Regions from separate parts of the Homo sapiens genome. Here region 2 is linked to region 1. Evidence: promoter capture Hi-C in human tissues and cell types (Jung and others, 2019). All regions are on one chromosome and are shown on one strand. The core of a region is centred on a gene start or on the middle of the fragment in contact, and the rest is flanking DNA. Distances in the headings are between cores, read along the strand shown.

The links. Contacts are between HindIII fragments. The study calls those that stand out against the background at their distance.
Region 2: a contact is called between a fragment that was not itself captured here and the fragment with the promoter of SPINT1 in region 1, in 2 of the 25 tissues and cell types used here (bladder and spleen).

The regions. Positions count from the first base shown.
Region 1 is chr15:40,840,066-40,846,551 of GRCh38, reverse strand. SPINT1 (serine peptidase inhibitor, Kunitz type 1) reads right to left here and starts at 2,504. Exons shown (of 11, transcript NM_003710.4): 1 at 2,366-2,504; 2 at 1,523-2,062. The coding sequence starts at 1,997. SPINT1-AS1 (SPINT1 antisense RNA 1) reads left to right here and starts at 2,028. Exons shown (of 2, transcript NR_146468.1): 1 at 2,028-2,373. RefSeq lists silencers at 1,823-2,062, 2,353-2,412, 2,493-2,722, 2,884-3,066 and an enhancer at 2,360-2,931. The HindIII fragment of the contact is 27,771 bases long and covers 1-6,486 here.
Region 2 is chr15:41,003,506-41,009,991 of GRCh38, reverse strand. INO80 (INO80 complex ATPase subunit) reads left to right here. Exons shown (of 36, transcript NM_017553.3): 28 at 4,305-4,399. It overlaps LOC105376713 (a long non-coding RNA gene), which reads right to left. Exons shown (of 2, transcript XR_001751508.2): 2 at 5,134-5,459. Among named protein-coding and RNA genes, the nearest start is that of INO80-AS1, 10 kb to the left of the region's middle. The HindIII fragment of the contact is 4,085 bases long and covers 1,486-5,570 here.

The sequences.
Region 1 (6,486 bases), core at 1,255-3,754:
CTTTTTTTGGAGGTCTCCCCTGGGGTGAATCTCAGGCCTACCATTTATGGGCAGTGTTACCCTGGGCAAATTCTTTAACATGGGAGTCTTAGTTTCCTAATCTAAAAAGTGGGATGACTGCTAGTAGCACCCTTTTTGGAAGTTGTTGTGATGAGGCCTGAGTGAGAGGATGTGTGGCACAGCAATCAGTAAGCTGTAAAGTGCTCACAGAGGTTATGAGAGGTGACCTACCCCTGCCCTGGAGCCCCACCTGGCCAGAACAGCAGGTAGAGAGAAAGGGGGAACCAAGGCTCTGGACTGGCCCTGATCCCAGCAGACAGTTCAGTCCGGGGAAGAAAGAGGAGGAGCCCTGGCCTCCGCTTTGCCTTTATCTATGGAAGTAAACAAGGTTTGGCTACCAGATTCTAAGCAGGGAGAGCCCTGTCTGGCTCATGCGCATGCACACACACCTGCCTGGACAGCTGACATCCCTTCCCTACTAGGTATACATACCAACAGGCTGACTCACCCCACAACCCTCCTCATCCCCCACCCCAGAGCCTCTAGGCTTCTGTGCCTACAACATCACTTCTCTCCCTTTGGATCAACCGCAGACTGGGCTTGTTTTCTAGTCTCGGATCTGGCAGTCTTCCTGGACCACCAAAAGGCCAATGCATTCCTAGGGGGTAGAGAGATGCTAAGCAGTCCCAAGTCCAGCCAGTGGAGGAGACTATGGCCAGGCTCACCTGACAGGGCATCGGTGTGCCCAGACCAGTGCTTGGCCAAGGTGCCTTTCTAGTCACCAGACCATCCAGACAGCTCACTCCTTCAATCAGCCTATCAGTGCCAGAGGTCAGGAGTCCTGGGGACTTCCTCTCCCCTCCAGTACACACAGCCCAGAGCCAAAGGCCTCCCTGTGAGCACCAGCCCATCACCTCTGAACATCCTGAGTTCAGGAGCCAGAGCCTGGGCCCTGCCCTCCCTACTCATGTCCCCTTTCATTTGTTTACTGTTTGTACTGCCTACTACCGATGTGAAGGCGATCTGGCTGTGACATCTGTCACCCCATTGATCACCAGGCTTGATTCGGCTGTACTGCCTACTTCTAAGGAGGGCTTCAGGTAGAAATAATCCCAGCACTTTGGGAGGCCAAGGTGGGTGGATCACCTGAGTTCAGAAGTTCAAGACCAGCCTGGCCAACATAGTGAAACCCCGTCTGTACCAAAAAAAAAAAAAAAAAAAAAAAAAAAAAAATTAGCCGGGTCTGGTAGCGGGTGCCTGTAGTTCCAGCTACTCCGGAGGCTGAGACAGAAGAATCACTTGAACGTGGAAGACGGAGGTTGCAGTGAGCAACCAGAGATTGCGCCATTGCACTCCAGCCTGGGCGACAAGAGCGAGACTCCGTCGCAAAAAAAAAGAAAGAAAAAGAAAAAAAAAAGTGAACTCTCCTTAACTCCTCTCTGATGTTCGTCTCCCCTAGGACCCCATAACCAGTCCCTTTTTTGAGTCTCTCCAAACCCATCCATCTTGGCACCCTCCTCACCTCCAAAGCCCTGGGTCCGCAGCTGGCGGTAGGAGCGGTACACTTCCCTCGTGAGGTAGTTGATGAAGCCCTCCCTGGGCGCGAACTTGCACACGAAGTTCTGCTCGTAGAGGCAGTTGATGAGGAAGCAGGCGGCGATGGCGTCCTCCCCGCGGTCGGGCTGCAGCTCCACTAGCGCCAAGTTGCAGTTCTGGGTGGTGCAGCAGGCGCGCACGCAGTCCCAGCCCCGGCGCACGGTGGGGGACTCCAGGAAGGTAGCTCCGTTGCTGACCGAGGCGTTGGTGTCCAGCACGAAGCCAGGCACCCCGGCGGTAAAGCTGTTCAGGCAGTCGGCTCCCGCGGGCAGCCCAGGGGGCGCGGGCGGTGGCCCGGCCTGGGTGCCCTGGAGGCCGAGCGTGCACAGAAGCCACAAGGCGACGGCAGGGATGCCGGCCGGGGCGAGGCGGGCGCGGGCCATCGTCCTCGCAGGGGCCATCGCCTTCCTCCCCAGGGGGGTCACCTTCAGAGCGCGGGCCTCTGGGTTCCGAGGGTGCTGGTGACCTGAGAAGAAGGGAGGGGACAGAGGAGGAGACACACCTGATCAGCCCGGGAGACTTTGGAGGAGGCGGGCCGGCCGGGAGGAAGTGGCGGGGAGGAGGGACCGGAGCACCCCAGGATCGAAGAGGGCGCACGGGCCCGGCCCTCCCACGCGCCCTCCAGGGACCCGGCAGCCAGACAGACGGACAGGCGGACCGCTAGGGAGCTCAAGTACCCGGACACACGCACGAGCGCAGAACAAAGGGCCGGACATGCTCCAGCCCGCTCCGCCTGCGCCTCGGCCTTGCGCGCGGGGGCCCGGGTTACCTGCGCAGGTGAGTTGGGTGGGGCCGGGTCCGCCGAGGTTCCGGTCCCAGCTTCCTGCGCGGCTCGGGTCGCGGCTTCCGACCCGGTGCTCGGAGAGCTGGGGCTCGGCCGCCTTCTCCCCCTGGTTTCTGGTGAAACTGAGTCAGCGCCGTCGGGGCGGGGCCGACATTCACCCTTGCGCTGCCGGCCCCGCCCACGCCCGGTGCGCTGCGGCCGCCTCTAGCGCGGAGCTCCAGGCCCGGCCCGCCCCGCGGCCCCGCAGCCCCGGTGCCTCCCCGGCAGCCAGCTCCCCGGAGGGGCTCTCGGGCTCCACCCAGTCCAGCCTCGCGAGGGAGCCCCGCGCCCGAAGCGCATACCCAGCCGGGAGGGGATGCGGCCGGGACGCGAGGGTCCGGCCTCTGGGGCGGCGGCCTCCAGTCTTCCTTTCCGGCCGGGGCCTGCTTTCCCAGCCCCAGACCTGAGGCCCGATGCAAATGATCTTTCCGGCCCTCAGGAAATCATTTCCATTTCGTGGCGGGAAGGTAACCCAAAAGTTGCGTGGCTGCACCTGTGATAACAGGGATCCGGGATGTCTGCCTCACTGTCAGCTCCGGGAAGCCCTCCCTGCTGTCAGGGTGAGAAACGGAGGCGATTCCCCGCGTCCAGGCTCCCCTGCGTGCTCCACGGGGCTTCCCTGTTGTTCGAGGCCCCTCCTCATCTTGTATGTACAGTTCGGTCCATTCCCTGCTATGGCTCATTGGACTGTTGCCCCCTTCCCTGGAGCCCAGGCTTCCTCTCTTTCACAAAGGGGACGCTGCTGGCTACTTTCTTCCAGGGAAATGTCATCCTTGGAAGCCTGGAGGTTCCAGTTCACCAAGTAGCTGAGTTAATGCCCTTCACGAAACAGTGGACTCCTTGAAGCCAAGCTCATTGCTCCTCCTGAGTAAAAAACTCTTAAGAGACCATTCTCTACGGCAAGGGTCTGAACAGGTGAAAGACAGATGAAGGCAGGGCTGGAGGAAGGAATCACATAGCATGCTCTCTTAAAATACAGATTCCAAACCTTTTCCTGATGGCTTAACAACCCCCAAACCAATGGGAACATTCTTCCCAGTTTCTCATCCAGAGCAGCTTTGCCTAGCAGATCCTGTGGCCAACCCTTGGATTTTGCTGAACTGCAACATCCTCCAGCTGCTCACATGATGCGTGTTGGGGTGGGAATCTGGGGCCTGTCTCCCCTTCTCTGGATGTTTAGGGTTTATCCACAGACCCTGGCACACTGGTGGATATACAACAATGGTGGTATGCTGGGAATGAAGAAAATGATTGTGCAGTCACTGGGAAGAAAGGGTTTTGTTGTGATTTGATTTCCCCTTATGGCTAACACATTCAAGAATCTTTATTTATTTATTTATTTATTTTTTTTTTTTTTTTTTTGAGACGGAGTCTTGCTCTGTCACCCAGGCTGGAGTGCAATGGCACGATCTCGGCTCACTGCAACCTCTGCCTTCCAGATTCAGGAAATTCTGCCTCAGCCTCCCAAGTAGCTGGGCTTACAGGTGGGCACCACCACGCCGAGCTAATTTTTGTATTTTTAGTAGAAACGAGGTTTCACCTTTTTGGCCAGGCTGGTCTTGAACTCCTGACCTCAGGTGATCCACCCACCTCGGCCTCCCAAAGTGCTAGGATTATAGGCGTGAGCCACTGTGCCTGACCTCAAGAATCTTAATACAGGAAAATATTACCTTATGGTAATATTACATCACCATAAATTTATCATTACATCCATTATACACACCATTATAAAAACCAACATGAATTCAGCACTGACAATGCCCAAACTCTGTTCCTAAGCACTGCCCACATATTACCCTATACTCAAAACAAACCTAGGGAGGTAGTATTTTTAGCCCCATTTTACAAATGAGCAAACAGGCTCAGACAGGTAAACTGACTTGTCAGGTCATTCAGCATTGAAGCGGCAGAGTAGGGATTGGAGCCCAGGCAGGCCAATTCCATGGCTTCAGTGCTTAAACCCTGGGCTTTATGGCCTTTGCAATTCTGACTTCATCTGGAAGTTCTGCCCTCACCTCAGATTCAACTTGCTTAAACCCATAACTCACTTTCAAGTGGTGAGCACCCACCATTTGTTGAGATGCCCACTGTGTTCCCTCCAGGCACTTGACATAGGATTGCTAATGCTCAGGACAACTCTAAAAATTGCTTCCACTTTGCAGAAAGGTTCACTGACTCCATCAAGGTCAGGTAGTGAACGAAGAGTGGTGACAGGTTGTAGAGAAGTTGAACTTGTGAGCTTCAGACTCAGACTACTGGATTTAGCTCTTGCATCTGCCACTTACTATTCGTGTGGCCTTGTGCAAGTTATTTGATCTCTCTGCCTTAGTCTCCTTGAATGGGAAGTGGGGCTTCATAAGGTTTTTTATGAGGATTAATTGAGTTAATGCAGACAAAGCATTTGACACAAAGAGTTCTCAATAAATGTTACTTGAAACGACAACAACAACAACAACAAAAACACATGGTGGTGAGGATGCAGAGAAAAGGGAACGCTTATACATTGTTGGTGGGAATGTAAATCAGTTCAGCCACTGTGGAAAGCAGCTTGGAGATTTCTCAAAAACTTAGAACTACCATTCAACTCAGCAATCCTATTACTGGGTATATACCCAAAGGAAAATATATTGTTTTTCCAAAAAGACACATGCACTTGTACGTTCATCACAGCACTATTCACAATAGCAAAGACATGGAATCAACCTAGATGCCCATCAATGATGGATTGCATAAAGATAATGTACTTCATACGTACCATGGAATACTATGCAGCCATAAAATTAACAAAATCATGTCCTTTCCAGCAATACGAATGCAGCTGGAGGCCATTATCCTAAGCAAATTAAGGCAGGAACAGAAAACCAAATACCACATATTCTCACTTATAAATGGGAGCTAAGCATTGAGTACACATGGACATAATGATGGAACAATAGACACTGAGGACTACCAGAAGAGAGAAGGAGGGAGGGGAGCGTGGGGAGCGTGGGCTGAAAAACAACCTTTTAGGTAATATGCTCACTACCTGGGTGACAGGCTCATCTGTACCCCAAACCCTATACCCATGTAACAAACCTGCATGTGTACCCACTGAATCTAAAATAAAAGTTGAGGCCAGGTGCAATGGCTCATGTCTGTAATCCAAGCACTATGGGAGGCTGAGGCAGGAGGATTGCTTGAGCCCAGGAGTTCAAGACCAGCCTGGGCAACATGGCAAGACCCCGTCTCTATAAAAAAAAATACAAAAAATTAGCCAGGCATAGTGGCGCATGCCTGTAGTACCAGCTACTCAGGAGGTTGAGGTGGGGGGATTGCTTGAGCCAGGGAGGTCAAGGTGGCAGTGAGCTATGATCATGCCACTGCACTCCAGCATGGGTGAAAGAACTAGACCCTGTCTCAAAAATAAGTAAACAAAATAAAAGTCGAAATGATTCTTTTAAAAAAGTGACAGAGCCAGGATTGTATCTGAAGTCTTTTTGACATTAAAAGCCATACTTTCCATACTACCTTATGCTGCTTCTTACATACTAATAAGAAAAACTACATGTGAAGAGAAGAAAGACTATAAGGTATGCCATCAAAGTAGGGAAAGTGATGGTATTTGAATGGTGAGACTGTAGGATAACATTTCTTCTTTCTAGTTTTAAAAATATTTTCCAAGATCCCTTCAGTGAACATGGGATGCTTCCATAATGAAGAGAGAGACACACCGTGATGACCTCCACATACCATATTTGATGACAGTCTTCCTTGGTAATCACTCACATCCATCTCTTGTCTGTTCCCACTGCTGCCCTTAATCTAGGCTCTGTGCCAGCTTCCTGATGGAACTCCAGGCCACCCTGCACACTGCCATGTGGTTCCCTCCTCCAGCCCTGCCTTCATCTGTCCCTCACCTGTTCAGACCCTCAGTCATCCCCAAGAACTTCTCTGGCAGAGTGTACAGAGCCAACTGTTCCCTGGACCGACTCATGAAGTTCAGTATTTGCTTAGGCAGAGAGTGTCAGAGCTGTCAGAGGAGAGTCAGCTAAAACCCTTCCCCTGGCTGGGCACCGTGGCTTACGCTT
Region 2 (6,486 bases), core at 2,279-4,778, 160 kb before region 1:
GCGATGCTTTTATCTATTTTATATATTAGAGGGGTTCCGTGTAAGAATTTGCTTGAAGAAAGTGTTCCGATGCTTTTAAAACAGGTATGTTTGGCCGGGCACAGTGGCTTACACCTGTAATCCTAGCACTTTGGAAGGCCAAGGGAGGAGAATCACTTGAGCCCAGGAGTTCAAGACCAGCCTGGACAACATAGCAAGACCCCCATCTCTATAAAAATTTAAATTTAAATTTAAAAATTAGCTGGGCATAGTAGTGCATGCCTATAGTTCCAACTACTTGGGAGGCTGAGGTGAGAGGATCATTTGAGCCCAGGAGGTCGAGGCTGCAGTGATCCAAGAAAACTATACTTCATCCTGTGCAATAGAGCAAGACCCTGCCTCAAAAACAAAACAAAACCAAAACGCATATGTCAGCCATAAAAAATGATGAGTTCATGTCCTTTGTAGGGACATGGATGAAATTGGAAATCATCATTCTCAGTAAACTATCGCAAGAACAAAAAACCAAACACTGCATATTCTCACTCATAGGTGGGAATTGAACAATGAGAACACATGGACACAGGAAGGGGAACATAACACTCTGGGGACTGTTGTGGGGTGGGGGGAGGGGGGAGGGATAGCATTGGGAGATATACCTAATGCTAGATGACGAGTTAGTGGGTGCAGTGCACCAGCATGGCACATGTATACATATGTAACTAACCTGCACATTGTGCACATGTACCCTAAAACTTAAAGTATAATAAAAAAAAAAAAAGAACAGTATAAGGAACTTAAAAACAAAAACCGCATATGTTCTACAATAGTGTTTCTCAAAATTAATGCTTTCGAATCAAATGTTATTAAAACGCACGTTATGCCAGGTGTGGTGGCTGATGCCTGCAATCCCAGCACTTTGGGAAGCCAAGGCGCATGTATCACCTGAGGTCAGGAGTTTGAGATCAGCCCGACCAACATGGTGAAACCCCATCTCCACTAAAAATACAAACTTAGCCAGGCATGGTGGCGCATGCCTATAATCCAGCTACCTGGGAGACTGAGGCAGGAGAATCGCTTGAACCCCGGAAGTGGAAGTTGCTGTGAGCCAAGATCTCACCATTGCGCTCCAGCCTGGGCAACAGAGCGAGACTCCATCTCAAAAAAAATAAAAATAAAATGCAGATTATGATTTACTAGGTAAGGGATGTGTCCCTCAGTTCTGCATTTCTAACAGACCTCAGGTGGTACAAGTGCTGCCCATTTGAGGGCCATGCTGAATGGCAAGGTTCAAAGGGAAACTGCCTTGCCTTCCCTTTCTAGTGGTTGCTCTCAGCTGCTGATATAGGCTATCAGAATAATCTTTGAAGCTTTTTCCAGCTACAGCTTTATTGATGTATGCTTGATAAATAAAAATTGTATATATTTAAGGTCGACCATGTGATATTGTCTCTCTTAGAAGAGTTCACATATACGATACAATATTATTAGCTCTAGTTACCATGATGTACATTAGATCTCCAGGATTTTTTCATTTTGCATAACTGAACCTTTGTACCCTTTGACCAACATCTCCCCATTTCCCCTACCCCCTGGCAACCACCCTTCTACTCTCTACTTTTATGAGTTTTAACTTTTTAAGCTTGCACATATAAGTTGAACCATGCAGTATTTGTCTTTCCATGTCTGGCATATTTTACTTAACAGAATCAGGTTTATTCATGTTGATTTCCTTCTTTTTAAGGCTGAATAATATTCGTGTGTGTGTGTGTGTGTGTGTGTGTGTGTATGTATATATATCACATATTCTTTATCCATTCACCTGTTTTGTTTGTTTATTTTGAGACAATCACCCTGTTGCCCAGGCTGCAGTGCTGTGGCATGATCTTGGCTCACTGCAGCCTCAAACTCCCTGGGCTCAGATGATCTTCCCACCTCAGCCTCCTGAGTAGCTGGGACTACAGGCACATACCAGCACACCCAGCTAATTTTTGTATTTTCAGTAGAGATGGGGTTTCGCCATGTTGGCCAGGCTTGTCTCGAACTCTTGATCTCAAGTGATCCACCCACCTCGACCTTCCACAGTGCTGGGATTACAGGCGTGAGCCACTTCGTCCAGCCAACCACCATACCTGGCCCCAACCTTTGTCTTTTAGGTGTTTTCCTATAGTGTGAGGATGTAGATGTCGCTCTATTCAGCCTTTTAACACATCTTTCCATGTCCATTTTCTTGTTTTTTTTTTTTTTGAAGCTATTTACTGAAATAGACTCTAAATTTACTAAAGCCTGAAGTCCCACTGCTCGTCTTAGTTCAAGAGCTAAGACTTGAAGCAGTGGAAGGGAATAATTCACTTCTGTTGCCTCAGTAACAGGCTCTCTATAATCAGGGTTGGTTTGATTATGGTCTAGGATTAATATCCCCGGGGTTGTGCTGGCCTTGATATATAAATATATAAACAGCAAAATTTACTAGAAGATTCATTCATCAATGCTTTTATGAGGCTAGAAGTTCAGTTTAAAAGGCAAATCAGGCTTGGCTCAGTGGGTCACACCTGTAATCCCAACACTTTGGGAGGCTGAGGTGGGCAGATCACCTGAGGTCAGGAGTTCAAGACCAGCCTGGCCAACATGGCGAAACCCCATCTCTACTAAAAATAGAAAAATTAGCCAGGTGTGGTGGCAGTTGCCTGTAATCCCAGCTGCTAGGGAGGCTGAGGCAGGAGAATCGCTTGAACCTGGGAGGAGGAGGTTGCAGTGAACCACGATTGTGCCACTGCACTCCAGCTTGGGTGACGAGCAAGACAGTGTCTAAAAAAAAAAAAAAAAAAAAGAAAAAAAAAAAAAGAGTGCCTGTGCAGGAAGCCTACCTTTTTGCTAAAATTATAATCTGTGTTTTGGGTGTCTCTGTAAACTGTCTTGGTATTGTCTAGTTACTTTGTTGTTCTGATTGCAACGTTCTGTGATTGGATTAGCTGCAAAAGGTATAGCAAGCCTCTAAGGACCATCATCTTGCTATCATTTTATACCTTCTTTCTTGAAGTCCTTTTTATCCAAAACGCCCCCTACCCTTCTGCCATTAGTTCAGTCCTACGATATAGCAATACCACTAAGTATGAACTTGAAGCTCACTTTATTTTATGCTTCTCTTTGATTATCACAGCTCTTAAGGAACCACTTTGAGACAGAAATGGTAAAAAATTAAAAAATCAAAATTAAACCAAATATAAAACACAATGAAGATGCATATGTCAATGAGCTTGTCTACTTTGTTGACCAGCTTCGCTTCACATGTACCCTAGCCAGAGACCTCTGCCAAGTTCTTGGCACTCACTCCATCTAAGAATAGGCTGTCACATACGCTGCACCAGATATTCCAAACTACAGCAACCTGATGTGCTAAAATGCCCCACCAAGTATAAGAGTTACATATGAAAATATTGCAGTATAAGAACATTTGACCACAGAAAACTAATTAACACAAACATTTCCCAAATGTAGAAATGATTAGTCTTTTTCAATAGAGAAGTTATTTTAGAACCGAATCAACTATTTTATGCTGTTTCTTATAAATAGGCAGCTGTGTTGAGTTTTTGATACTAGTTCTTCTACAAGTGGACTTTTTGTAGCATAATCAGAGATAACAAAAGAGGAAATAAATGTTCATTTGGACATAACTATAAGAAGAATTGCAATTTCTAAGAATGGAGAGGCAGTCTCTCTATTGTATCTTTTGGAGTCTCTTCATTCTTAAAAGTTGTAATTCCTCTTGATGATGTCAAGAACATTCTCTGCCATAGAAAATTACCTTGTCTTTTGTTTTACTCTGATGCTTAGGCCTCCCATAACAGTGATGCATGCTCTGTTGGGAGAAGGAAGCTTAGGCTGTAAATTTAAGCATTTTAATCAGTAAAGGTTTGCTCTGGGGAAACACATTCGTTTCAGTGAATGTTATTCACTGACAAAAAAAGTAGGTATTTTCATAGCTGTGAAAGATATCTGGTTGATGACTGAAAAACTATTTTGGTTTGTGGAATTTTTTTTTTTTTTTTTTTTAATGAAACCTACAGGAATTTACAGGAATAAGATTAGGTTCCAAACTGAAATTGAGAGTGATTATAATCTTCAGATTGCCCTGGATTTTCACACATTGGCAGTAAACTCATTTACAGATTAACTTCTTGTACTCTTGGGGTTACTCTCTCCCCATTCTGGTTATAATGGCTTGCCTCCAGTGTGGACAAGGTAGAAGATGGGTAGATGCCTGTGGAAATCAGAATACAGTAATTTGCATCAGATTTACTGTGTCCTTTTATCCTGGTTGGCAGGAATACATGGTTTACAGGAAGCATACCTACATGAGGCTTGATGGCTCATCCAAGATCTCGGAGAGGCGAGACATGGTTGCTGATTTTCAGAACAGGTAATGTTCATGGGAATTACAAAAATTATCTTTTTAATTTCCCTCTAGTGCTTGAAATGGTAAGTTTTTTTTTTTTTTTAAATGCCAGGACATCTGAGATTGTTAAGGAATCAAGATGTAATTCCTGCCATTTTAAGAAGTTACTAAATCTGCTTATCATAATTCAGATCTATGTGTCTGGGAGAGAAAAAGAGAATATACCTGATAGTTTGTATGTTTGAAGTATGCTTTCTTATGACACCAGTGCCTATTTCTTTGGATAATAAAAGAAATCATTTCTAAGTATGAACCAAGATCCTCCTCAATGGATAATAGGTATGTAGAAAAAAATCCACCAGCCTGTATTCCTCATTGCTTACAGTAGCCATTTCTTTTTTTTTTTTTTTTTTTTTGTGTGTGTGAGACAGTCTCTCCCTGTCACCCAGGCTGGAGTGCAGTGGCATGATCTCAGCTCACTGCAGCCTCCGCCTCCCCGGTTCAAACAATTCTTGTGCCTCGGCCTCCCAAGTAGCTGGGATTACAGACATGCGCCACCACATCCAGCTAATTTTTGTATTTTTAGTAGGGACAGGATTTCACCATGTTGGCCAGACTGGTCTTGAAATCCTGGGCTCAAGTGATCCACCCACTTCCACCTCCCAAAGTGCTAGGATTATAGGGATGAACCAGTGATCCCGGCCACTAACAGTAGCACTTTCTGAGTAATGACTTAAAGTTATTAGTTTGTTTCTGTGTTTCATTTTGTATAAGAAAAAGTACCTTTTATTTTCCTGCTTTCCTTTTAACATAGTAGCAGTACAGTGCCTTATGACAAATTGCAATACTGTACAATCTACTCAGCTGGCAGCTCTCAGCCACAGTACCTCTCCCACCTGCTAATGAGCCTATGAAATTTCAATTACTGCCTGCTGAATGCTGATGGTTTACCGAGCCATAATTATCCTGAGTGCAGCTTCTCATTGTAATAGGTAGAGTCTGGTTACTGCTTTCTCCAAGGAGAAAGCCAGGCTCCACTAGTGACGGGTCTGTTGAACTTCGTCTTCAGTTTTCCTCCTTAGACCTGGAGAGCCAAGGAATAAAGCAGATCTTAATGTCAGTAAATCAGAACAGCTTTGACTTTGGCTTTTAATTGCATGGCCTCTTAATATTTCACTTCTGAATTCTTATTAAGAAAATTAAGCACATAGCCATTTTATTTAGATTACAATTTTTAATTCCATTCAGTTCTAAAGCATAGTTTAATTCAGACATAAAATAATTTGGCATAAAACACATCCACAATTCAACATAGAGTGTCCTCTGTTTAAAGAATTTTTCCTAAGTTAAAACTACACACCAGAATTCCAGGTGCCTGTTTGACCAACAATAAGGAGAAGATCTGCTTCAAACCCGTTTCCATTTGTTACCCTCGTGCAGCTGTGTGGATAGCCTAACCTAGCTTCTCACCTAGCGGAAGCTACCAGTAGATTCTAAAACCAATTATTTGAAACATAAGCATTGTGCCTCCTTATTCCACCACATTGTTTTGGCAAAAAGAGGAAAAAAAATTACTGGGTGATCTTCATCTTTTCTTAATTCTGAAATCAGTGATACATATTTTATCATGTCATGTCCTTACCTACTCCAGCCTCAGAGCTGCAACTTGACAAGAATCTTATGTGCGAGCTATAGACTGTATGTTTCCTCAGAGTGCCTGTATTTTCTCCAGTCATGCCAGTATATCTGTGATGTGGGCATACTGGTATGGGGTGGCATGCTTTGTGAATTATGAGAAAAGCCATTAAGTAATAGGTATTTCACCTGATACTGTTTTTATTTTCCACTAGTATATTTGATACTGTACATTTAAGGATCTTTTTAACAGTAATGTTTTGTTTTTCTTCAGTAACAGTTGGGGACTTTATAGATTATAATGAAATGCCTATTGAGAAAAATTTGAAAAATATTTAAAGATGAAAATAAAGTCCAGGCACAGTGGCTCACGCCTGTAATCCCAGCACTTTGGGAGGCCGAGGTGGGCGGGTCATCTGAGGTCAGGAGTTCGAGACCAGCCCAGCCAACATGGTGAAACCCCGTCTCTACTAAAA